Regions from separate parts of the Homo sapiens genome. Here all the other regions are linked to region 7. Evidence: promoter capture Hi-C in 16 types of primary human blood cells and fetal thymus (Javierre and others, 2016). All regions are on one chromosome and are shown on one strand. The core of a region is centred on a gene start or on the middle of the fragment in contact, and the rest is flanking DNA. Distances in the headings are between cores, read along the strand shown. Region 1 holds the start of DCP2 (decapping mRNA 2). Region 2 overlaps STARD4-AS1 (STARD4 antisense RNA 1). Region 3 overlaps CAMK4 (calcium/calmodulin dependent protein kinase IV). Region 4 has its middle 3.7 kb from the start of CAMK4. Region 5 overlaps CAMK4 (calcium/calmodulin dependent protein kinase IV). Region 6 overlaps CAMK4 (calcium/calmodulin dependent protein kinase IV). Region 7 holds the start of EPB41L4A-AS1 (EPB41L4A antisense RNA 1).

The links. The method cuts DNA at HindIII sites, captures the fragments that hold promoters and counts their contacts. A CHiCAGO score of 5 or more calls a contact.
Region 1: the fragment with the promoter of DCP2 here is called in contact with the fragment with the promoter of EPB41L4A-AS1 in region 7 in 7 of 17 cell types (naive B cells, activated CD4 T cells, naive CD8 T cells and 4 more); the score reaches 8.2 in naive B cells.
Region 2: a contact is called between a fragment that was not itself captured here and the fragment with the promoter of EPB41L4A-AS1 in region 7, in 16 of 17 cell types (megakaryocytes, total B cells, fetal thymus and 13 more). The highest score is 12.8, in megakaryocytes.
Region 3: a fragment that was not itself captured here is called in contact with the fragment with the promoter of EPB41L4A-AS1 in region 7 in 2 of 17 cell types (M0 macrophages and erythroblasts); the score reaches 5.7 in M0 macrophages.
Region 4: a fragment that was not itself captured here is called in contact with the fragment with the promoter of EPB41L4A-AS1 in region 7 in 1 of 17 cell types (fetal thymus); the score reaches 6.2 in fetal thymus.
Region 5: a fragment that was not itself captured here is called in contact with the fragment with the promoter of EPB41L4A-AS1 in region 7 in 1 of 17 cell types (fetal thymus); the score reaches 5.2 in fetal thymus.
Region 6: a fragment that was not itself captured here is called in contact with the fragment with the promoter of EPB41L4A-AS1 in region 7 in 6 of 17 cell types (M1 macrophages, erythroblasts, M0 macrophages and 3 more); the score reaches 8.1 in M1 macrophages.

The regions. Positions count from the first base shown.
Region 1 is chr5:112,974,468-112,978,272 of GRCh38, reverse strand. DCP2 (decapping mRNA 2) reads right to left here and starts at 1,475. Exons shown (of 11, transcript NM_152624.6): 1 at 1,287-1,475. The coding sequence starts at 1,339. LOC105379126 (a long non-coding RNA gene) reads left to right here and starts at 3,488. Exons shown (of 2, transcript XR_948679.3): 1 at 3,488-3,575. RefSeq lists enhancers at 1,025-1,134, 1,245-1,294, 1,305-1,394, 1,465-1,514, 1,050-1,809 and 2 more. The HindIII fragment of the contact is 6,686 bases long and covers 1-3,805 here.
Region 2 is chr5:111,533,617-111,537,071 of GRCh38, reverse strand. The region is part of intron 1 of STARD4-AS1 (STARD4 antisense RNA 1); the gene reads right to left. LOC124901042 (a long non-coding RNA gene) reads right to left here. Exons shown (of 2, transcript XR_007058899.1): 1 at 1-3,455. Among named protein-coding and RNA genes, the nearest start is that of STARD4, 23 kb to the right of the region's middle. The HindIII fragment of the contact is 7,282 bases long and covers 1-3,455 here.
Region 3 is chr5:111,471,343-111,474,862 of GRCh38, reverse strand. It overlaps CAMK4 (calcium/calmodulin dependent protein kinase IV), which reads right to left. Exons shown (of 11, transcript NM_001744.6): 8 at 1,477-1,552. Among named protein-coding and RNA genes, the nearest start is that of STARD4-AS1, 39 kb to the left of the region's middle. The HindIII fragment of the contact is 3,362 bases long and covers 1-3,355 here.
Region 4 is chr5:111,219,022-111,222,363 of GRCh38, reverse strand. No RefSeq gene overlaps it. Among named protein-coding and RNA genes, the nearest start is that of CAMK4, 3.7 kb to the left of the region's middle. The HindIII fragment of the contact is 2,949 bases long and covers 549-3,342 here.
Region 5 is chr5:111,243,860-111,247,187 of GRCh38, reverse strand. All of the region lies in intron 1 of CAMK4 (calcium/calmodulin dependent protein kinase IV), which reads right to left. Among named protein-coding and RNA genes, the nearest start is that of CAMK4, 21 kb to the right of the region's middle. The HindIII fragment of the contact is 195 bases long and covers 1,871-2,065 here.
Region 6 is chr5:111,491,807-111,495,108 of GRCh38, reverse strand. It overlaps CAMK4 (calcium/calmodulin dependent protein kinase IV), which reads right to left. Exons shown (of 11, transcript NM_001744.6): 11 at 223-3,302. Among named protein-coding and RNA genes, the nearest start is that of STARD4-AS1, 19 kb to the left of the region's middle. The HindIII fragment of the contact is 1,149 bases long and covers 1,039-2,187 here.
Region 7 is chr5:112,159,276-112,161,775 of GRCh38, reverse strand. EPB41L4A-AS1 (EPB41L4A antisense RNA 1) reads right to left here and starts at 1,250. Exons shown (of 3, transcript NR_015370.2): 1 at 481-1,250; 2 at 1-73. It overlaps SNORA13 (small nucleolar RNA, H/ACA box 13), which reads right to left and starts at 291; the gene lies at 159-291. It also overlaps a transcript of EPB41L4A not described here. RefSeq lists enhancers at 446-495, 606-655, 676-775, 551-1,283, 1,156-1,365 and 1 more. The HindIII fragment of the contact is 7,805 bases long and covers 1-2,500 here.

The sequences.
Region 1 (3,805 bases), core at 226-2,725, 820 kb before region 7:
CCGGGCGCGATGGCTCACGCCTGTAATCCCAGCACTTTGGGAGGCCGAGGCGGGTGGATCACGAGGTCAGAAGTTCGAGACCAGCACGGCCAAGATGGTGAAATCCCGTCTCTACTAAAAATACAAAAATTAGCCGGGTGTGGTGGCGGGTGCCTGTAATCCCAGCTGCTAGGGAGGCTGAGGCAGAGACTCGTTTGAATCCGGAAGGCAGAGGTTGCAGTGAGCCAAGACCGCACCACTGCACACCAGCCTGGGCAAAAGAAAGAGGCTCCGTCTCAAAAAATAAAAACAAAAAAACAAACAAACAAAAAAAACCCCAAAAAACTCCACAAACACCAGTTCTTTACTTTCCATTAAAAAAAACTGCATGAAGGAGATACAACTACTAAAAGCCTGCCTTTTAAAACATAAACACAGTAACTGTGAACGAAAAGGTGTTATCACTTGTAATCACAATCCACACACACTTGGCGACAACTCCGGGTATCACTGCACTCCAAATTTTACCTTCGGAAAATAAGCATTTTTAAGTATCCTACACGTGTTTGGCTATCTGAAATCAGAGTTGACAAGGGGGAAGAATGCAGAAAATTTCTCATCTGAAGTATACACCCTGAGTTAAAACCCCGCGGTTGAGAATTTCCTTTAAAATAGGATTATTAAGGATAAAAAGAAAAGCAGCGCTACACTTTTTCCCTCTCTCCCCCAAAGACAAGTCCAGGGATGAGAAAAAAAAAGTAATTCCTTACAGGAATTTACAGAGAACGCCACGGACAAATAACACGCAGGCGTCAGAATAAGTCCGAAAATTTGCTCCTTGCGCAGGTCCGCGTACCTGGGATCCTAAGCCTTAAATTACTACCCTGGGGGTCTTCCTTCAGAATCGGGGAATGAGACACAGGGAGGAGGGGGTGCACGGCGTGGAAAAGTCACAGAGGCAGAAAAAACAATGGGAGAGGGAGGCGGCGGCGGCGGCAAAACGCTAAGACCCAGGCTCCGGCGAAGCGGCTACGCCTGCGGGAAAGCAAAATAGTTGAGTAACTTAAAAAATGAGGAAATTCCGGGTGTTCTGCGGGGAAGGACGGAGGGCCTTGAGAAACAGGGAGGCTGCGGCGGAAAGAGGGGCGGTGTCGTCGGAGAGCAGGGTCGACGATGGAAAGCGAGCAGCGGCGGGAGCGGAAAGCGAGGACATGGACGTGGGCGGGGAAGAAGACCCAGAGGCCTCTGGGGGTCCGCGAAACTGAGAAAACCCGACGGGGGCGAAAGGGGGTCGGGTAGCGCGGTACCTGCAGAGATCGTCCAGGACGCTGCCGGGAATCTCCACCCGTTTGGTCTCCATGATGAGGACCCACAGCAGGAACAGTGCATCCCGGCTCCGCGCGGCCGGGGACTGACGGTACGGCACTAGGACTCCGGCTCGCCGGAGAGCTGGCAGCCGAGGAAGCCGCGGCAGAGACGACTCCAACGGAGACGAGAAGGGGAAGGGGCGGGACCCGCTCACTTCCGTCCCGCTCCCTCAGCCTTGGACCCCAAGACTGGGCCAAGGCTCGGGGCGGAGCCCCCGGAGTCACGCCCCTGCTCGCTTGAAAGGCCCAATGGGAAGCTGAAGAATTGGGACTCTAAGCACTCTAAGCCAATGAGACGTTTGTTTATTGGTCTGCTACTTCCAATCCGTCTTCAAGCTGCTCAGTTGCTACTCAGAAAACCAACTTCCCGCCGCCTTTGAGGTGGCTACACGCATGCGCACCATGCCTCCTGCGCGCTTCTGGGAAGTTCAGAGGGGTCGGGGCTTAGGTGTAGACCCCGGACACATATCCGGGACTTTGGCATGTTGTGCAGGACCTCGCGGTGACTGAGCTCTTTCCTCTGCAGGGCCGACCCTGAGAATCCGTACAACACAAGAGTATGCTCGCGATTCCTGTCACCAAGTATCTTGCACTTATCGCAGCCCCCACCAACTCCAGGCCAAGAGCTGTGCCTCTTTCACTACAAACCCTTGGAGAGGGTATCCATTTTGGAGGTGGCTCTCCTCTGTGCTTCCTTAGGCACCTGGTTCCAAACATGAAGACAAGGACTTTATCTCAGTATCTGGCACCTAGCAAAATCTTAGAAAATACTGATTTAAGCTGAACTCTGATCTGTATTCCACCCTCTGCACAAAGCAATCCCCACCTGCTCGTCCTTATTCATTCCTCGTCTTGCTTAATGGAGACCAATCCATTTGGGATCTTTGGAGAAACTAGATCCATCTGTTCTTTTTCCTCTTACATCAGACCCACAGGCCCACACACACCTGCTCCGTCACAAGTTTAGTCTGTTCTACCATTTAATCTCCCATCTTTTGTCTAAATTTGTCACATGCCACTGTGTACTTCAGTTTTGCATCATTTCTCCATACTACAGTGAGAGCTGCCTAACCACTGACTCTGCCTCCATTCTTGGCCTGTGCAACTGCCTACATTTTGTTTTGTTTTACTCAGATAGGAACAAGTTATCTTTTCAGTTTCTGCTGTATGATCAAGCCCAAGTTCCTTTGGCATAAGAGGCCCGTCACCATCTATTTTGCTCCCGTTTTCCATCTTTTTTTTCCCCTCTTTCTTGGAGAATTCCTCAAATTTATCTTCCTGACAACTACAGAGTTTTTACTTATTTAGAGTTCTGTTTTGTTCTTCAAATGCCCCTTTCTTGTGGTGTCACATTCTTGCTTTGTATATTTTATTTTATCCTTCTGAGGATATTAATAATAGATTTTGACGTTTTCTTCTCCCTGAGTAGTCTTATTCCTCTCAGCTGCTTTTTGCTATTATCTTGATCTCATCTATCCTATTAGAAGCCTCTGTAGTCCTTGACTATTCACTCACACTTAAGAGTAAGGCCTTAACCTGGAGTCAAGTGCCTTGAAAGCTAATTGGAAGCTCTCACCTTGTAGATGGTACTTGTTTCCTGAGAGCTTCACTGTAGGATGATCTGGCTGAGCTGTTGGTTGGAAACACATGGTATCAGTATCTGTACGTAATTCTTTCTGCTGATGAAATTCCCTAAAGAGAAAATGCTTCCAGGCACAGCTTCATGTATTCTGGGAGTCCAGTACAGAAGCACAGGCTGCAGTATTCCATTTGCTTTATTCAGTACTCCCAGCACAGTCCAAGTCTTATTTTAGATTTCCTAAGAAGCAGGCACTGAGACAAGATTTTGAGTGCAGATAGCCTGTGAGGGAGGTGATCTTGGGAAACATTGGTAGGAGAGCAGGAAAGTGAGTCAAGGAGGGGAGGAAAGCCAAAAGGTTTATTATCAAGGAAATTAGCACTGTGGTTAACTGGAGCTTACTGTCACTGGAGAACTCTGGTGGCCAGTATAAAACATATACCTCAGAGTTATCCCACTCAAGGGGTGAGGGAGATGGGGATTTATATACCAACTTCCTTCATTGGTTGAAGGCAGCTCCTGGGGTCTGCACTCTAGCCTGCTACATGGGCAGCAAGATGGGCTCTGGTGGCCAGAAAAAGTCCTACGGCAAAGAAATGCAGATACTAGCAGTTGGACCTCCAGCCAGTGTAGTGGATGGATTGGTAAAGGTAAGAGTGAGCCCCTTCAGTTCTATTTTGCTGGGTGTGCATTCTACCTGTTCTGACTGAATGTCTTTTCTCTGACTGGGAGGCACCATAGTGGTTTTCTTAGTTGTCTCACTTAGAGCTCAAGTCTAGTTTTTAGAGTATTCTAAATGATGGCAGTGGAACAACAGTTCAAGGCAAAGTGGTGCTCACCCACATGGGCCAATGGTATATTAATAGAAACAAGCAGGTTA
Region 2 (3,455 bases), core at 401-2,900, 630 kb after region 7:
AACCTCTCACAAACAAGACTCCAATCACAGACTCAGACTTAAAAGTGCTAAAGAAACGTCTTATATATTCTTCCCTTGAGAGTCCATCTTATGTATTTTTATCATACAACTTATTTTCAACCTAGCAGACATATCAATCCCCATGTGAATAAATCAGATAACCATATTAAAAATACTCTGTAATTGAGAAAAACAAGGCAATGAAAAAATAAAGGGACTTGGGGGAGAGGTATTTGCAAAACAGTGGGTCATAAGAAAAATGTTTTATCTTGAAAAACCTACCCTCTTTGTACTTAGAAATTGTTCTTATGTTCTAGCAAGAACAAAATGAATTTAAATGCACTTTATCATTAGACATGTATATGATGCTATTTTCTTGTCATCTGGTGGTCTGGACATAACTGACTTTCTGAGAATTGGCCAATAAGAGTTTGAAGACACATATTAACTCTTTTATGTGAAGAGATTCATATAATAAACCATTGGTGCTGTGTACAAAACACTAGTCTAGTGACCAACAAGGATAACTGTCGGTCCACAATTGCTAAAATTAATCTCAGGAATAGAATAAAGCACTTGGCAGATATAAAATATCAACTACACTATACTCCATGTTTTGGGTGTGCTTGTGAGCCAACTGAAATTCAAGGTAATAGGCTGTGTCTAGTCAACAATACAATAGGAAAAGGATGTTGGCATGGTATTTTCAGCCATCTGGATGGCTAAATAAGATTACTGCTAAGAGCTAACTAAAATTGTCTGGTAGATGTAATCAAAACAGATACAATTCAGAATAACTCAGACCAAAAGAATATTTCCTCCTGTTAGAGTCATTTTAAGAGGAATTTGAAATCAATGCAAACCATGTCTTCAAGGTTTTCCTTCACCATGTGAAAACAAAGGCTCTGCCTGTATAGAAATAATGGTAGAACTATATAAAGGGCAGTTGGTTTTTCAGCTGATGAGCAATTGGGAGCTACTTTATTACTCAAACTACTTTTCCAGGAGCTACCATCAAAGCACTCATGAAGGTTCTTCTTTGTTCTTACCATCCATGGGTGTTACTAAAAGAGAAAGTAGAAAACTTACTGTCACAATGGTGAGAATTTGGCCAAAAATCACCCAGTCTTTGAACTGAGCTTAAACTAAGTAGTAGTACATAACATTAGAATTCTGGTCACTTAAATTAAGGACGTTTGTAAACTATTCAAATTAACAAAACAAAGCAAACAAACAGGAAAACAAGTTATATGTGATAGATGGATGGGGGAAAAGTGATAAAATTGGCCAGTTTCACGGAAAGGTCGAATAGTGAGAGTAGTCAAAATAGCCTGTATAAGTTACTAAGATTTAGTTTATTTTAACAAATATTTATTCTGCATTTTCAACCATGCAATCATCATTGAACTAAGTGATGAAAAAAGACATTGTCTCTTCCTTAAATGTCTTAAATATATAAATTGATACTTGCAGTTTAGTTCCATACATTGGAGTTGAATGTATGAACAAGAATCAGAGTTTCTGTAGATGTTGGAATACAATATTGGGTATAGGAGAAGGAAAGAGAATCAGAAAGTGGGCCACATTTTCTATGACTAAAGATGGAATTTACAAGATGGCTTTAATATTCCCTTCAGCTTGACTAAACTTTAGACATGTTTCTTTCTGATTCTAGGCCCTTGACCTCTCCTTCTTAGAACATTGACTTTAGAATATTTGTAAGTTATTTATCTGCCCCCTTTGAGATATAAATCTTTTAAAAAGCCCCTTGCCAATTGTACAACTCAGAACTGTCCTTCTCAAGGACCTTGGAGCCATTCCACTGAAATGTAATCATCAAGGAAACTGTGCCCTATCTTCCAGTCTCTGTGGGAGAATAAGAGCCTAACTTCCATGGAGACAATTAGTAAGCTCGGGTGAACTAATCACCAAGAAAACCATTTGCAAACTTAAATAACTCAATTTGCTAGACATATCCCATTGATAAATCTCCTTCAAACATCCTCCAGTATTTTTCTACTAGCTCACCTCAGCTCTTAAAATACCTCCTGAGTTCAGACTTCGTTCTGGTCTCACTCCCTATTGCAGTAGCCTTGAAGAAAGTCTTCCTTGCCTGTTTCACTTTGTGTGGTACAATTTTGCTTTGACAATAGAGAGTCAACAAATAGACAAACAGAGGGGACCTTTCCAAGCAGAAAGCACAGCATTGGTGAAGACCTGGAAACATCATATTTTACTATGTATTTGTGGAGATCTAGATCTAGACATATTTGCTACATCTGTGAGGCTACCATCCTGCCTGCCTACAGCAGCCTTGTGTGCATTTGTATCTGAAGATTTTTCACCTCTACTTCATTGGCAGTACCAGGATTCAGATCCTGCTTCTGAGAATCCCATCCATTGCCTTCTACTCTCTCCCTCCCAGTCTGGAAGACTCTTATTTAAGATCTACATTCTCACTCTTGTTGTACTGCATTTCCCTCTGTTCCCTGCATACAGTCTGTGAGGCAAGTAGCTCTGAGTACAAATCACCCTGCTACAGTCCTTCCCTGGGGTTAGAAAGTAGAGCTGGTTAACTGTCTTAATAGGGAATAAGAATAACGAAAAATTTAGGCAGAAAACATAAATTTTGTGGAAGATATTAACTTATCAGACCAAGTCCAGCCTGTCTCCAAAGCAGTTCTTAATGCCTGAGATTTATTTAGAGGTCTCATATCTGTGATCCCAAAGCCCCACTCCACTCAGCATAATGGGATCTCTGTTCTGGGGTACTCCTGACACTGAGTCTAAAGGTGCAGAATTTTCTTCAGTTTGTTTCTTCTTTAGATCTGTGATGAGAACTCTTCAATGTCCACTCACTCCTTCCCATCTTCTTGAAGAAAAAAATCCTAAGGCGTCTTGTAGTAGTATAGCTCTGCCATTCTATAGAGGGAAATTAGGCCCACAGAACTGTAGGAAAAAACCTAAATGCACGAAGTTTGTCAATTATACAGTCTGGATTAGATGGATTAGAATCCATAACTTTTTTCCTGAGACAAGATCTTGCTCTGTCACCCAGGTTAGAGTACAGTGGCACGATCATAGCTCCCTGTAGCTTCCAGGTCCTGTGCTCAAAAGATCCTCCCACCTCAGGCATGTGCCACCATGCCTGGCTAAGAACCCATAACTCCTTATTTGTTTAGTGCTTGACCTCTCTAAACTATACCCTGAGTATCCATGGGCAACTTGCATGATCATTTGAGGTTTCAGATTTTTTACCTGTAAAATGTGATAATGGTAGCCACTTCACAGGACTGTTGTGAAGAGAAACAAAGTGGGTGAGTACTTGGTGCAGTCTGACAGTTTGTGTTCTACAAAAGCTAGATCTCTTGCCAGTTTTCTTTTTGCCTTTCTCTATCATAGCATTCACCACACTGCACTGACATCATTTATTTATGTCTCTTTCTCAATTCATT
Region 3 (3,520 bases), core at 425-2,924, 690 kb after region 7:
AGACACAAGGAATTGAGCACACAAAATATCTTTTTGTATTACATATTAGTGGATGGCTATTTTATCAGTTGCTTGTTAAACCTTTCTGTCTTGGCGATCAACCATTGTATATCAGGTAAATTAGAGTTTGCTAACGTGCTTGTGGGCCCTACCACAGTTAGCCCATTCCTAGTCCATATCACCTGGATATTGAATTTTTTAAGATCACTATTAAGTTAAAAACAACTTTAATTAAAAGCATTCTGCTACGGACTGAATTGTATTCCCCCCTCCAACCCCAAAATCCATATGTTGATGCCCCAGCTCCCAATGAGATAGTATTTGGAGATGGAGCCCTTGGGAGGCAATCAGGTTTAGATGAGGTCATGAGAGTGGGGTCTTCCTCATGGGATTAGTCCCCTCATAAGAAAAGAGTACACAGAGCTTGCTTTCTCCTTCTCCCCATCATGTGAGGACACCGTGAGAGGGCGGCCATCTGCAAGCCAAGAGAGGGCCCTCAGCAGAAGCTGACTGTGCTGACACTCTGGTCTTGGACTTCCAGCCCCCGAAAACTGTGAGAAAATAACTTTCTGTTATTTAAGCCACCCAGTCTATATATTTTGTTATGTAAGCCCAGGTAGACTAGTATACCTACTTTCAAACCCTTCAAAATTTCTCTAAATTGGAATATTATGCATTCCAACAACTAACTTTGTAGTACTCTCTAAATGGCAACTAAGTCTCCTTGTTTTGAACTAAACTCTTGAAAGCATCGATATCTTATTTTCTAGTTGTTCTACAGTATTCTTCCATCTCAGACGCTCTTCTATTTGGTTGATTTTTTTCATCACCACCTGCAGTTCCACCATGTCTTTGGCAAATTTCATGAAACTCCTTATTTCTTATTAGACAGGAGCTCAGGAATGGATGTGGGGATACCAGGGATTAAAATATTTCACTCATTTTTTTTCCCAAGAAATTTGTGTAGGGTGTTAAATTTAAGACCCTTGAAAACCTAACAGAAATAAGAAACAAAATTGATAGCTAAAAATGCATTTAAAATATTCCTGATAAGAAATATACCAGTTTGGAATTGCTTAAGAAATTAAATAGTCATTTGCCCATTTAAAAGGACTAAATCTAATAATTTCATATAAGATGCAAATAAGTAAAACAAGAGCAAGTTTACACAGCTGGTCTTGGGCTCATATTCTTTACTAGTGTCAAGTAATAAACTGTTCCCTAAATCTGCTGTATATTACATAGTGGATATAGACATAGGAAAGCCCTGGACAAGAATTCCGGTCTCAAGAAAATTCCAAAATAAAAAGCAATGTTCATTTTCAGGAAATTCTATCACTAACTGCATTTAGTATGTAACAGAAAATCACAAAAAGGCAAAAAGTAATCTTTATGGTTTTTATGAGCATTAGAGGTATCTAGAAAATGTCACAGCAAGGTAAATAGTTTACATAAATATTGCTTTTCTTCACTTACAAGATGTAGGTGATTATTCCTACAGACCACATGTCCACCTCAGGTCCATAGGCACAACCTCTAAGAATTTCAGGTGCTGCAGAAAAAGTGAAAATTGTGTTAAATTAGAGCTTAGTCAATATTTATATTTTAATATCAAGCAATGGGAAAGAAATAAATTCATCAAAACAATTTCTGAACAGTTTTATAACCAATCTTCTCTCCCCAAACCACAGTATGAAGCTATAAATACTTATGTCTATTTTAGTAGGAGAGATTATAGTCTATCTGTTTTGGGATGCATAAAATAACACTATTAACTTTAATATTCTATGTCAGAATATCATGATACTGCTCAAATCAAGTAGATAGAGCTGTATGTATGCTACAAAAGACGCAATACTTCAAAGGGAGTTTTGTACATAGAAAACAAAGAAATGAAAGTTAAGCATAACAAGGGAGAAAAAAGTCACAAGCATGCTGCCTTGAGATCTAGACCTGCTGGGAGCAGGGTGTGTCAGCGAGTGTGTGGGTCTGACAGTGTGCAGGGTGGGAACCAGTGTAGGTGGTGAGGAGGGTTGACAAGTATCTAGTCTAGACGGTTGCAGCAGGAGCTAGGAGGTGTCCTGGCACATGTCCTGGCATTGAGAGATGCATGTAGGTCTCCAGAGAGCAGCTGATCCCAATCAGCTTGAGGTCATGAACTGAGAAAGGGGAACTTATCTGTGCACAGTGAAGCAGCTTGTATTAGTTCTGCCCGCTGTTGTGAAAAAGGAAGGCTTTCTCAGCCATAAAATAGCCCTGGTGTGGAGAATAGCAGTATCTTTTATATTTTTATTACCTTAGATTTGTGAAAATGGGTAATTAACTGGATCCAGGCACTTTCCCTGAGTACTAAGGGTGTTATTTGTTTGCCTAATTAACAACAGAAGAAAAGGGAAAGTAAGAGCCCCACCATCTATGGAGAAATAGAGCTCAGGCCTATTGTCCAGAGTGGCCTTTCTTGATTTTGAACACAAGTGCGGCAGGTGCCAGCAGCGTACTTGAAGAAGGAGCTTCTTGATTAATGCTGATGGCTGCTTGAGGAAGGCCTTGGGGATGAGGACACCATACCATTCTCTGGGATAGGGGTTGGAATGCAAGTAAACAGGATTCTCTGTCCATGCTGGCTGGAAATGTCACATTCAGTGTTGCCTATCAAGATGAGCTCTGGGGCTGGGCACAGTGGCTCACACCTGTAATCCTAGCACTTTGGGAGATCGAGGCAGGTGGATCACCTGAGGTCAGGAGTTTGAGTCCAGCCTGGCCAACATGGTGAAACCCTGTCTCTACTAAAAATACAAAAAAATTAGCCAGGCATGGTGGTAGGTGCCTGTAATCCCAGCTACTCGGGAGGCTGAGGCAGGAGAATAGCTTGAACCCAGGAGGTGGAGGTTGCAGAGATGGCGCCGCTGCACTCCAACCTGGGCAACAGAACAAGACTCTGTCTCAAAAAATAAATAAATAAATAAATAAATAAGTGAGCTCTGGAGGGAGGCTATCCTCATGGGACTGTGGATTTACCATACAGGAAGGAATACTGTGGGCATTCCACTGACCTCTTCCCTAACTATCCCTTAACTCTCATCATGTTCCAATTTCCCTGTAGAAGCTGGGTTACATAAAATATGAGGAGTCTTCAAAAGGTCATGGTAAATGCATATTATAAAAAATTATGCATGAATTTCACAATTTTTTGTACCAAAATAAACTTGTACTAACTTGTCATAACATGTCCAAACAGGATCTAGTCTGAGACACTAAAAAGGCTAAGACTTCAGTTTGAAAAGAGCCTCTATCTGAGAAACATGAATTCTGCTAAAATTGAAGCAAGAACAAACATCAAATTTATGGTAAAGCTTGGGTGGAAGAATGGCGAAATCACTGAGGCTTTATAAAAAGTTTGTGGGGACAATGTTCTAAAGAAATTAACAGTATACAAGTGGATAACTCATTTTAAGAAGGGATAAGACAATGTTGAAGACAAAGCCCACAGTGGCAGATCATCCACATCAATTTTTGAGAA
Region 4 (3,342 bases), core at 774-3,273, 940 kb after region 7:
ATGAAGCTTTGCTTGCTTGCCTGCAGCTCACCTCCTGCTGTGTGGCCCAGTTCCTAACAGGCCACAGACCAGCCCATGGCCTGGGGGTTGGGAACTCTGCTGTAGGCAACTGTAACACAACAATAAGTATTTGTGTATTTAAACATATCTAAACATAGGAAAGGTACAATAAAAATATGGTATAAAAGGTAAAAAATGGTACACCTGTATAGGGCACTTACCATGAATGCAGCTTGCAGGACTAAAAGTTGCTCCGTGTGAGTGAGTAAGTGGTGAGTGGATATGAAGGCCTAGGACATTACACTACTTAGACTTTATACATACTGTATGCTTAGGCTACACTAAATTTATTTAGAATAGTTTCTTTCTTCAATGGTAAATTAACCTTAGTTTACTGTAACTTTTACTTTATAAACTTTTTAATGTTTTAAAACTTTTTGACTCCTTTATAGTAATGCTTAGCTGAAACACAAATACAAGGTATTTTATACAAAATATATTGTAAAGCTGCACAAAAATGTTTTCTATGTATCCTTATTCTATAAGCTTTCTTCTTTTTAAAACAACTTTTTTAACTTTTTGAACTTTGTTAAAAACTAAAACATACACACACACTAGCCTAGGCCTACACAGAGACAGGCATCGATATCATGTCTTCCGCCTCCACATCTTGTCCCACTGAAAGCTGGAAGGGCTTTAGGGGCAATGACATGCATGGAGCTGTCATCTTCTATGATGACAATGCCTTATTCTGGAATACCTCCCGAAGGACCTGCCTGAAGCTGTTTTACAGTTAACTTTTTTTATAGCTAGAGGAGAAAACTCTAAAATAACAATAAAATGTATAGTGTAGTAAATACTATACTAGTATTTACTGGTAACATAGTATAAACTAGTAACATAGTCATTTATTACCATTATAAAGTATAATGTACTATACATAATTGTATACACTATACTTTTATATGACTGGCAGCACAGTAGGTTTGTTTACAGTGGCATCACCATAAACACATGAGTAATGTATTACACTGTAAGATTAGGCTATGATGTCACTAGGTGACAGAAATTTTTCAACTCTATTAGTCTTGTGGGACCACCGTTACACATGCAGCCCATTGTTGACCAAAATGTTGTGTGACACATGACTGTACAAAAACTATTCCTCATGATAATTTTATAATGATGAGCACAAACTCAATGTACAAATGCTCTAACAAATAACAAGTATATGCAAATTCATACAAATTCACTTACATACTAGCTTGTTTGGTGAAAGACTGAAAATGCCCACGTGATGTTACTTTTCAGAGAATAGATTCACTAATCGTGTTGAAAAATCAAGTTCACAAGCAAAGCAAGATAATAAAGCTCTCTAAATTCTAGCTTTGACTCAGTAAGTTTCCCTTGGCTTGCACTGACCAGTGGACAAATGGGCATGAAATAGTTGCTAGGCCATTTTTATTCTCACTTCTTTGAGGCAAGTCCAGCAGCAGCAGCACTGCATGTAAATGCTTGTCTGTTCTTAGCAATTCTTTTACAACATAAGCCCAAAGCAAGCATGTTACATTAAAGGAGATGGTAAGCCTTTTTTCTCCTGCTACTTTAGGTAACAATGGTGCAAGAAAGCCATTTCATGGTACAGAGGTGATTATAGAATTCATTTTATATTCAGCATAATTTTAGTCATTTGACATCTATGCTTTTCATAATTGACTTTTGTAAAAATGCTATTAATTGAAGTTTAAAAACAGGATATTTTGTATAATCCATGCAGCTTACTTTCATTTGAGACATAGATAAAAATTAATAAATATTAAAATAGATGAAACAGGAATTAAATATACAAAATGTACCATTACTTCTTATCAAAACTCAACTGAAATGACCAGAAAAGGAACAGGGTTATCATCCCACAAAAAGAAAGAGAGAAGTGATGTCAACTGAATCTTGAACACGTAAACAAACAGTAACAGAGGAGTTAATAAATCAGAAACCTAGATTTGCAATGGGAAAAGCCAATAAGAAGAAATCTAATCCCTACTATAAAATCAAGACATGTTCAGAAGTTAGAGTACCAGATAGTTCTCAAGGTGAGGCATAGAACAGAGAACAAAACATTGGTTAAAAAATTTTATAAAAAGTTATTAGGCCCCTTCATCCAAATTAGAAAGGAAGAAGTCAAATTGTCCTTGCTTGCAGATGATGTGATCTTATATTTAAAAAAGCCTAAAGACTCCACCAAAAAAAAAAAAAAAAAAAAAACTATTAGAATTGATCAGTCCAGTAAAGTTGCAGGATACAAAATCAACATATGAAAACAGTAGCATTTCTGAAATAGAAAATGAAAAAGTAATCCCATTTACAATAGCTACAAATAAAACAAAATATCTACGGATAAACTTAACCAAAGAAGTGAAAGATGTCTACAATGAAAACCGTAAAACATTCATGAAAGAAATGGAAGAGGACACAAAAAAATGCAAAGATATTTTATGTTTATGGATTGGAAGAAACAATATTTTTAAAATGCCCACACCACCCGAAGCAATCTACACATTCAATGCAATGTCTATCAAAATGCCAATGACATTCTTCACAGAAATAGGAAAAATAATGCTAAAATTTATGTAAAACCACAAAAGAAGCCAAATAGACAAAGCAATCCTGAGGGGAGGCCAGGGCAGGGGGAAGCTGGAGGTGTCATATTACCTGGTTTCAAATTATAATACAAAGGTAAAGTAACCAAAAGAGCATGATACTGGCATCAAAACGAATATATAGGCCAGTAGGACAGAAGAAAGCACCGAGAAATAAATTCATGCATTTACAGTCAAATCATTTTTGAGAAAGGCACCCAGAACATACATTAGGGAAAGGACAGTCTCTTCAATAAATAGTGCTTGGAAAACTGGATGTCCATTTGCAGAAGACTGAATCTAGACCCTCTCTCTCACGATACAAAAATCAAGTCAAAGTGGATTAAATACTTCAATCTAATACCTGAAACTATGAAACTACTAGAAGAGAATATTGGGGAAACACTCCATTTCATAGGTCTGGGAAAGATTTCTTGAGTAAGGTCTCAAAAGAACAGGCAACCAAAGCAAAATGGACAAATTGAATCACATCGAGCTAAAGTTTCTGCACACAGCAAAGGAAACAATCAAAAAAACTGAAGAGACAACCCACAGAATGGGAGAAAATATTTGCGAACTATCCATCTGACAAGGGTTTAATAACCAGAATATATAAGAAACTCAAACAACTCTACAGGAAAAAAAATCAGATTGAAAAATGGGCAAAAGATCTCAACAGACATTTCTCAAAAGAAACATACAA
Region 5 (3,328 bases), core at 719-3,218, 920 kb after region 7:
TACATACATACATATACTATACATATCAGTAGTAGCTGATATTTAACAGGTGTGTACTATGAGCTGGGCATAATATATATATGTATTTTATTGGTTCTGTTTTTCTCTACTAAACTCTGATTGATAAAACATCCCGAGGAACTAATGTTTTCCATAACCTTCTTCAGGAAACACAATAAATTCCCATCTTCTACAGCAATAAAATCCTATCTTCTGCAGCACATCATAACTATAATGAGATACCAGGAGCTGTATGCTGGAACCCCACTTAATTTAAGGGATATAGTAAACATTATTGGTTGCTGCTCAGCATGTTTTCTAACAGCATGCACACACACTCACAAAAGTTGGGGTTGCCAAAGTCCTAAAAGTAGACCCTGAATGACATAAACCAACAATTGTAACCTCATCCCTGCTGTCTCTGGTTTGTTTAGGTGTGGTGGTAATCTGGGCCTAGGTCAATTAGTGTACAGACATCCCCCTGGCCAGGATGGTGGATTCTGCTTCATTAAACAATAGGAGGATGTAAAGATCCTTACTGTCCTGGATGATGATGGTTGGCTGCCAGTAGGAGGACTTAAATGCTGCATTTTGCTACCATGAGGGAAGCTGGTATGAAAACAAAACCAACACACCTGGGAGAGCAAAGCTAAAATAAATGCAGAGAAATAAATCTGTACCAAGTCGAACTGCATGTAAAACCTGAAAAAGTTCTGGACTTTAGTGACTTGAGCCAATAAATCTATTCCATTGGTTAAGATGATCTCAGCTAGGTTTCTTTTGGTGCTTCAGTATTTACTTATTAAATTACATTTGTACATTAAAGCATCCTAACTGATAAAAGGGAACATAGAAGCAGTAAAAACTGGGAATATAAGAATACAGAAAGCCCTTCTTGGGGGTAGACAGACTGGGCAGGGCAGTGGCGAAAGAAAAAGTGTGTTAAATGAATAGGTGAGCACAAGCTTTGTGCTTTCCAGCTATTCTGAGAATATGTACAAATACATTTATGTGAACAAACCTCAAACATCAGTGCTCCTTAAACATCTCGAGAATTCGATGAAAGCTGTGGTGACTTGCTTCAGAAAAACACGTCCACACATAAAATATAGCTTTCAATTTCAGAAGCTTCATATAGTCCCAAAACCTAGTCACAGGAAGATCTATGGATTAAAGTTAGAAATCCCTGCTCTATATGGTGGCTGGCAGAAAAATAATGTTAACATCAATGCTTTCTATAAATGGTTATAGAAGAATAAAAATAGAAACATGCTTTGGCTGAACACAAGTTATACAAACTGCAGTCATTTGTGAGAACCATTTACTCCTGTGGCTGATAGGTTTGTTCACATGATTATGACGTACACACCCAACAGTTTTGTGTTAAGTTTTGTTTATATCAGAAAATTTGTCCATGAATGCGCAGCATTTTATGGCACACACAGCAGTCATCTTACCACTTTCAAAAAGTTAAGGCAATCTGTATTATCAACAAATTTACACACAGTTAACAGGTTTAAAATATTAGATCAGGGAATCAGTTGGAGAAGTCAAGTGAAACTCATTTGCTGCTATTTAATGGAATTATGAGAATAAAAAACCAAATTGAAGGGGTCAAAGTAGAGCTGTTTGAGAGAAATATGAACATGGTAGTTGTAACTCATGTCAGAGAAAGTAGACCAAGAAAGGAAGAAAAGATATGGCAGAAAATGTATTAGTATCCACATTTTTCAGTGCAAGCTTAGATATAGGCATGTGAATAAAAGACAACACTTGCAATTTTCCCTTTTACCAATAATAAAAATTTCTGCTATTATTATCAACAATAAATTAAAATAATTTTTCTTATCAGTTAAAGAAACTTAAAGCTTTACTTGACAGCCTATCACCATAGTCAGTGAAATTACTGACTGGGGTAAAGAAGAAAAGAGAAGAATATGTATTTAATGCAAATTGGGTGCTGGCAGTATTAATTGAAATTAAGAATAAATATCAAAGATATTTCTCTTGTAAATAACTTATGGAATCAATATGTCCCCAACTGTAAAAAAGTAAAAAGTAAGCTTAGTCCTGTAACATGTGCAAGCCCCATAAAAGTACTACCTCCATGTGAGTTTTGCTAAATATTCTAGTAATATATTCATCAATCCATCAATATATTCATCATATTCATTTCTGCTAAATATTCTAGCAATATATTCATCAATCCATCTGCTCAAACGTTCACTTTTCCTGGAGTTAGAAAGAGTCAGAAAGTTAGAAACAAAAAAGGATTTATTTTATGTTATGTTATATTATTTATTTATTTATTTTATTTTTAATTTTTTGAGACAGAATCTCGCTCTGTCACCCAGGCTGGAATGCAGTGGTGCGATCTCGGCTAACTGCAGCCTCCACTTCCCGGGTTCAAGCAATTCTCTTGCCTCAGCCCCCCAAGTAGCTGGGACTACAGGCACGCACCACCATGCCCGGCTAATTTTTGTATTTTTAATAGAGATGGGGTTTCGCCATGTTGGCCAAGATAGTCTTGATCTCCTGACCTCGACATCCGCCTGCCTCAGCCTCCCAAAGTGCTGAGATTACAGGCGTGTGCCACTGCGCCCAGACTATTTTATGTTATATTTTAATATAGGTCAGCTTTTAAAAGTGAGTGGGACACTAGCATATTTAACTAGTATCTTCAAAGAGGTATGACAAAGAATATCTCAGCCCCAAATCACTCATAGACCAGAAGACAATGCAAACCAACATCAAGGCTAGAATTCTTAACTGTGATTCCAATACATTTGAGGACAAAGATTTTTTACAAGGTGAACACTCTCCAAAATGGGAATGAAGACAAGTATAAAATATTCTGCAATGTTTAATAATTTTTGATGCATTTCAATTTTTAAGACATATCCTCTGCAAAAAAAAATAGTAAGCAAAACATACAAGGTAGAAAATAGTGCATATTTTTAAATCTAAATCTGTAATAGTTTCTTGGAGATACAGAATTTTGTATTCTGAAATAATTCAGGAAAGCTGTAGGAGGAATAGCTGGGAATGGTTTAAGCCCAGCTTTCTGTAAATGGCACTTGTGAAGAAAGGAAGTACGTCAGAGACAAAAGTGCAGAAGACCAAGGTTCTGGTTCCATTTCTACTACTAACTAGTTTTGAAGGGCTGGAAAAGACAGGTGACTTCTCTGTGCTCCGGTTTCTTCATCTGTATTAAAAAAACAAAAACAAACAAACAAAACACTGGACTGGTTGAATTTTAAAGTTCTATCCAGCTCTAAGTTCCTGAAAAAATCTAAGTCAGAATCTTAAGAATGGTGAAGATGAATGC
Region 6 (3,302 bases), core at 364-2,863, 670 kb after region 7:
CTAATATCCTCTTTTAACTCTAGTGATTTTATAATTTTACTCAACAGAAAATATGTGAGCACTCAGTGTTAAAAAAAAGGCTATGAAACTCAAAGTATAATTTTATCTGAGAGAATGGGAAAACACTCAAGGAGTGATTCAACTGCACATTTCAGGTGTAAGAAAAATGTCCATGGTGTCTCTCTTGAATTGTGGTAACATTTGAAATCACAGAATGCAAAGTTTTGGTGGTTTCTTAAATGATTTATTATCGTATTCTACATGCCAACTGCTTTACATTTCCCAGCAGCAAGATATAGGCTTCTTTGGGCATGTTCTGACATGTCTGTCTGAGTGAACTTACACCAAGTAACATTGGCCCTCAGGTCAAATTTCTACAATTAGTCTTCCAACACCCATTTTTTATAATGTCACGTACTCTTCAAGTTCCTAGAAAACACCCCCCAACCCCCCCCAAAATTTACATATTTAATTACTGAATTGGGTTATCCAACCTGAATCCAAGAAGAAGCCACAGCTCTCATGTGGTCTGCCTCAGGCTTTGGGCAGCTGAGACAGCCCATGACTGTTGTGTCCCATCTGTAAGAAGTAGAAACTCACTGGTCAGTCACCACCATTGAAGAATACTGTAGCTCTACAACAGCAAATGGGCATGATTTTGATGAATTCTCTACAAACATTTTCTGTATGTACATTTATGCCCAGGCCAGACTTAATACATTTACCTAAAAATATTGTAATATATCTTTGTATTAAGTAGTCAATAGCACCATATTGTCAGGTTTTAAAAATGAAGTGTTCACAGCTCCATTTTCAGTGCTCTTCAAATTAGAAGTTGGGAAGGTAGCCTATAATCTTGGTTGTGTAAACTTAAAATATTTATACTTTGTCCTCCAAATCTTACATGCTCTTGTGTTTGGCTACTGACTTGCAGCCTAAACTATTGGAGATGTAGCTTTCCTGTATGCAGTGCTGTTCCATTAATCTAATCCTCTATGCTGCTATTGAGCTGCTTATATCCTTTTAGTCCAGAAAGCTTTCAGCAACCCAGGAATAAAAATTTCTCCTTTAGGAAAGACTAGAAAACACATCCAGATAATGTCACATAAGCCTGAAAAGCCCAAGTAGGAAGTTTTCCTTTCTCAATGTCTGCTAACTTACGATTTTTGTAACCTCACAGTAATTCTACTTCTCTTCCATCATTCAAATGACAGTCAATCTTGCTCCCTATCTTCCTTCATTTGTCTTCAGGAATAATGCCGCCATTCACTAATCACAGGCATTATCTGAAATAAAGAGGCAAGACAACTAAAAGTACACATACTAAATGTCTAAATGTCTCCCAAGTTTCTTGAAGATGGATGTAAAAATACTGCCTGCAATAAATGATATCAAAAGGAACTTACAAAACAGTATGTAAAGGGACAAAAGGGAGAGATGAAAAAGGACTTGACAGGAGCAGGTTGATGTTTGGAGAAACAAGTTCTGATGGTTTTAAATTTTGTTGCCTGAGACTTAGCTTCCTACAGGTTGTCTTTTAAAATCTAAACTTTCAGGTAGAATTCAATCAGAAATCCTGGGGGATTGCCTATTCAGGTCAAATAACTGAAAAGGTTGAAAAAATGAGGTCAGCAATAACCTTGATTCGGTCCTCCACTGGCAACATTTTAGGAAGTACGTGATTTTTTGGAGTCATGAGACATTTTTCAGAAATTGGAGTCTTGGAAAACTTGAAATTATCTGTCATACTATCATTTACTCTGTTTTGTCAGTGGAGACCTGGCCAATTCAGTTTTTGCTTTCAGTGACTGAGGCTTTGCTTTAACCTGGTGACTCCCAAAAATATCTTCGATGTGTTTGATGATTTTTATTTGGCTTAGAAGCACAGCAGATGAGCCAAGTATGTCAGGCTAGATGCTCTGAGGAAAGGCTGCACATGGACCTACCCAGAGTAAGGAAGGAGTAAGGAAGTCTAATTCAATTTTGCACGAGATGAGATTCTGTTGCACACTGGCAACACTTCCCTGTGTATTTCAGCCTTTCACATTTAGTATTCTTCCTTCACCTCTGCCTTTCATTTTTCCACTCTATGATCAGGCCGGTTCTCAGCCAGACATGCCCCCTACTTCTTCCCTACCTGCAAAGATTCACCCATCTTTCACATACAGCCTGTGTTTCCATAAAGCTTTCCTTCATCATTCCTGGCAAAAGGGAGCTTTTCCCTCTTTCCATTCCTAGGGCTTATCATCTGCCTAAATGCAGCATAGGTTATATATGTACAGGTTGTATCTATAAGGTTGGCTTTTCTCTCCAACTACAAAGCTCACTCCTGGAGGATAGCATTGGATTTAATTCATCTTTGACTCCTCCATGGCATATAATAGTTTCTCAGTGAAAGTTCACAGGGAAAATTGTTCCTGGAGGGGGCTGCTCCTGGGAAGCTTCAAAATTAGAAAATCACTTCCTTACAATGTGATTAGAATGTAGGCCTAATATCCCCTAAACTATGTTGTTTAGTTTCTGGGAGAAACATTAGCTATTGACTTCATTCATTTCTAAAGTATTTGTCCATCAATGATCGTCTTCAAACTGAGCAATCAAGAAGATGGGCAGGGGAGAATGTGGAATCCTAATCTACATTTTGTTATCTTTCCCCTCACTCATTCCAGTAAAGTCTCTGCTACACATAATGATGCGGACTGGCAGAAGATTGATATCTTTTGTTCTGAGTTCTACAGCGAGTGTATCCTAGTGGCTATATTATATTATTGATTGCTGTAATAATAGAGCAATAATATTGCTGTATATTATTTAGAGTTATAATTTTAGGTACTCCTAATAAATTGATATTGCACTTTCTACTAAATATTTCATTTGTGACCTTTTGGTTACAGATGTTGAAAGTCAAACGGAAACACAAAGGTCATGAATGCCTATGTTTTTCTCCATATCTCGGTCACTAGCTTCCCTTAAGGTGGATATTTTGGAATGAACAATTTCTCTGTGACAGAAATAGACTAAGACAAGGGCCCTTCTTGGATTTCTAAATATGTAAGGAAAGCAAACGAAAGCATTTACTCAAGGCCCTCTCTTTTCAAAGAAATAAAATACGTAACACTCAGGAAAGCGTGGGGATTAGAAAATGGCTTTCTTACATAAAAGAGCTGGCTGTTTGCGTATTCCCTGAGCTATTGTTGAGAAAGTCATTGTCATATAATGCCACAAAATAAAACATAATATTTCCTAAAATGATTAATGAAAATTCAATTGATATAAATTACTTCAGAATATTATGAGAGATT
Region 7 (2,500 bases), core at 1-2,500:
CTTCAGGTCACCTTTATGCTCCCAGATGGTATTCAGCTAGCAGCAGTCTACACTTCAGGCATCCATCTTCCACCTGAACAAAAATTAGAACTGGCTAAGAGAAACCATACACTTAAGGCTAGCAGGGTCAAGATCACGCGTGGAAACGTAAAAGCAGCAACTGTTACTTATGCAGCTCCTACACCAAAGGTATCAAATTTAAGGGCAGGAAAAGGCTGCAAAGCGTTTAATTTACGCCTTTTTTGACACCACATTCACTAGTTTCCAAAGTGAATGGGCAACACAAAGGCTGACACTGCGTGAGGTAGGCTTTATGGCATAAGGTTGCTGACTGGCTGACAGTAATGCCGATTACAGCCTAAAAACGGACAATACATTTCAGAGAAATTTTCTCACGATTTAAAATCCGACTTAATAATGAAAAGTGAAATGCGATGCGTTTTAAATGGCGACTGGTCTTGCACGAACGTGAAAACTCACCTGTAGGGTAGGTGATCACTCCCGACGAGCACCGCACGTGGAAACAGCTGTAACCAGGCACGCTGCTTTTAAGTTATTTTATACGGGGGCAGGGCAAGCATAAAGTCAGTTATACGGTAAGGCCTTTTCACTGACGAAAATAAAACCAGGCTTATCTGGAGAACTCCCTGGCATAGTCGATGATGTAAACACAAATCGACGAAGCTCCCCGTTTCCAAACGTGGGAACGCAGGCCTGAGGCCAGGCCGCTGCCCTTGTTCACGGCCCCGGACACTTCGGACACAGGCCGCCGCAGTCGACTCACCAGACTCAGGGTGGCCGCGTTCCCCCGCCCGGCGCCCCTGCGTGAGAGACCACGCGGCCACAGCCAGGCGCCATCCCAGAGGACCCAGAGCAAAAACCACAGCAAGCTCGCACCAAAAGGAAGAAAGGACAGGCTTCCGTCCCACAATGCTTTTCTACAAGTGGAAGGACCCACTGTCCGAGAGCGCGAGGGGGGAGCGGGCTGTACCATCGGCCGCTGCGCTATGGCGAGACGCCGCCGTGTGGCCGGAGGGAGAAGTGCCAGTGAGGGACCGAGGGGCGTGTCACCAAAGGGAGGAGGAGCCTGGGTTCTCAGCCCGAGTCACCTCTGCGGATGTGTGGCCAGTTCTTTCCACAGAGGAGGTATCCAGACATCCCCCCACCCGACCAGGGTCAAGAGCATATGATCAGTGCTGGCAGCGGCAGGAGCCCAAAGGACTTTAGACCACGTATTTTGGGACCCGACAGAATTCATGAGTCCAGCTGAGGAAGAGTAGAGTCATTCATTCGAAAGATATTTAGTCAGCACTTACTATGCTCCAGGCCCTGGCCTGAGTGCCTGGGAATCAGGTGTGGGTGAGCCAGGCAAGGTTTCTGTGGTACATTCTGCTTGGGTGAGTAGGCCACTGACCAAGTGAGCCCGGATGCTGAAATTCTACAATGTAAGTGCCAGGAGGGCAGCAAAAGAGGGTCATGCCATAGGGTAGCGCTGTCCGATGGAAACAGTGTGAGCCATGAGTGTAATTTTAAATTTTCCAATTGCCACATAAAATGTGAAAAGAACGCCGGGCGCGGTGGCTCATGCCTGTAATCCCAGCACTTTGGCAGGCTGAGGCAGGTGATCACCTGAAGTCAGGAGTTCAAGACCAGCCTGGCCAACATGGCAAAACCCCGTCTCTACTAAAAATACAAAAATTACTTGGGCTTGGTGGCGGGCGTCTATAATCCCAGCTACTTGGGAGGCTGAGGCAGGAGAAATGGCTTGAACCCGGGCGGGGTGGGGGTGGAGGTTGCGGTGAGCCGAGATCATGCCACTTGACTCCAGCCTGGACAAAAGGGCGAAACTCCGTCTCAAAAAAAAAAAAAAAAAAGTAAAAAGAAACAGATCAAATTAATTTTAATAATAACCCAACATATTTTAAATATTTCAACAGGCAATCAATATGAGATTATTAATAAGATATTTCTTTTATATCTACTAAGTCATAAAAATCCGGTGTATATTTTATACTTCCAGCACATTTCCGTTCAGACTAGACACATTTCAAGTGTTCAGTAGCTCATGGGGCTAGGAATAGGAAGACTGGAAGTGAACTCCGAGCAGATGTGTGAAGGCGGTTATGCAAGATCTGGAGACAGCAGGCCTTGGCCAGTGTGGCTGGAGTCGAGTAAGGAGTGTAGAGTGACAAGATGCAGCTGGAGAGCCAGGCAGGAGCAAGGCACTTAGGGTCTTGTCACACAGGGCAAGGTGTTGGGATTTTATGCTGAAATCTTAGAGTTGATTAATTATCACCACAAAAATTAAGCAGAGTTTGTTAATTGGCTTTTTTCCTGATAACCATAACTCCTTGAAGGGACAGGACAAGTGGCAGCAAGACAAGTTGTATGATAACAACTAGGTCTCCATGTTTCTCTAAGTCCTAGCAGAGATTCATCCAGAGACCAGTTTTAGCACCTTTCGTTGTTTCTTTGAAGCCTACTTCTATAAAAGAAAGAA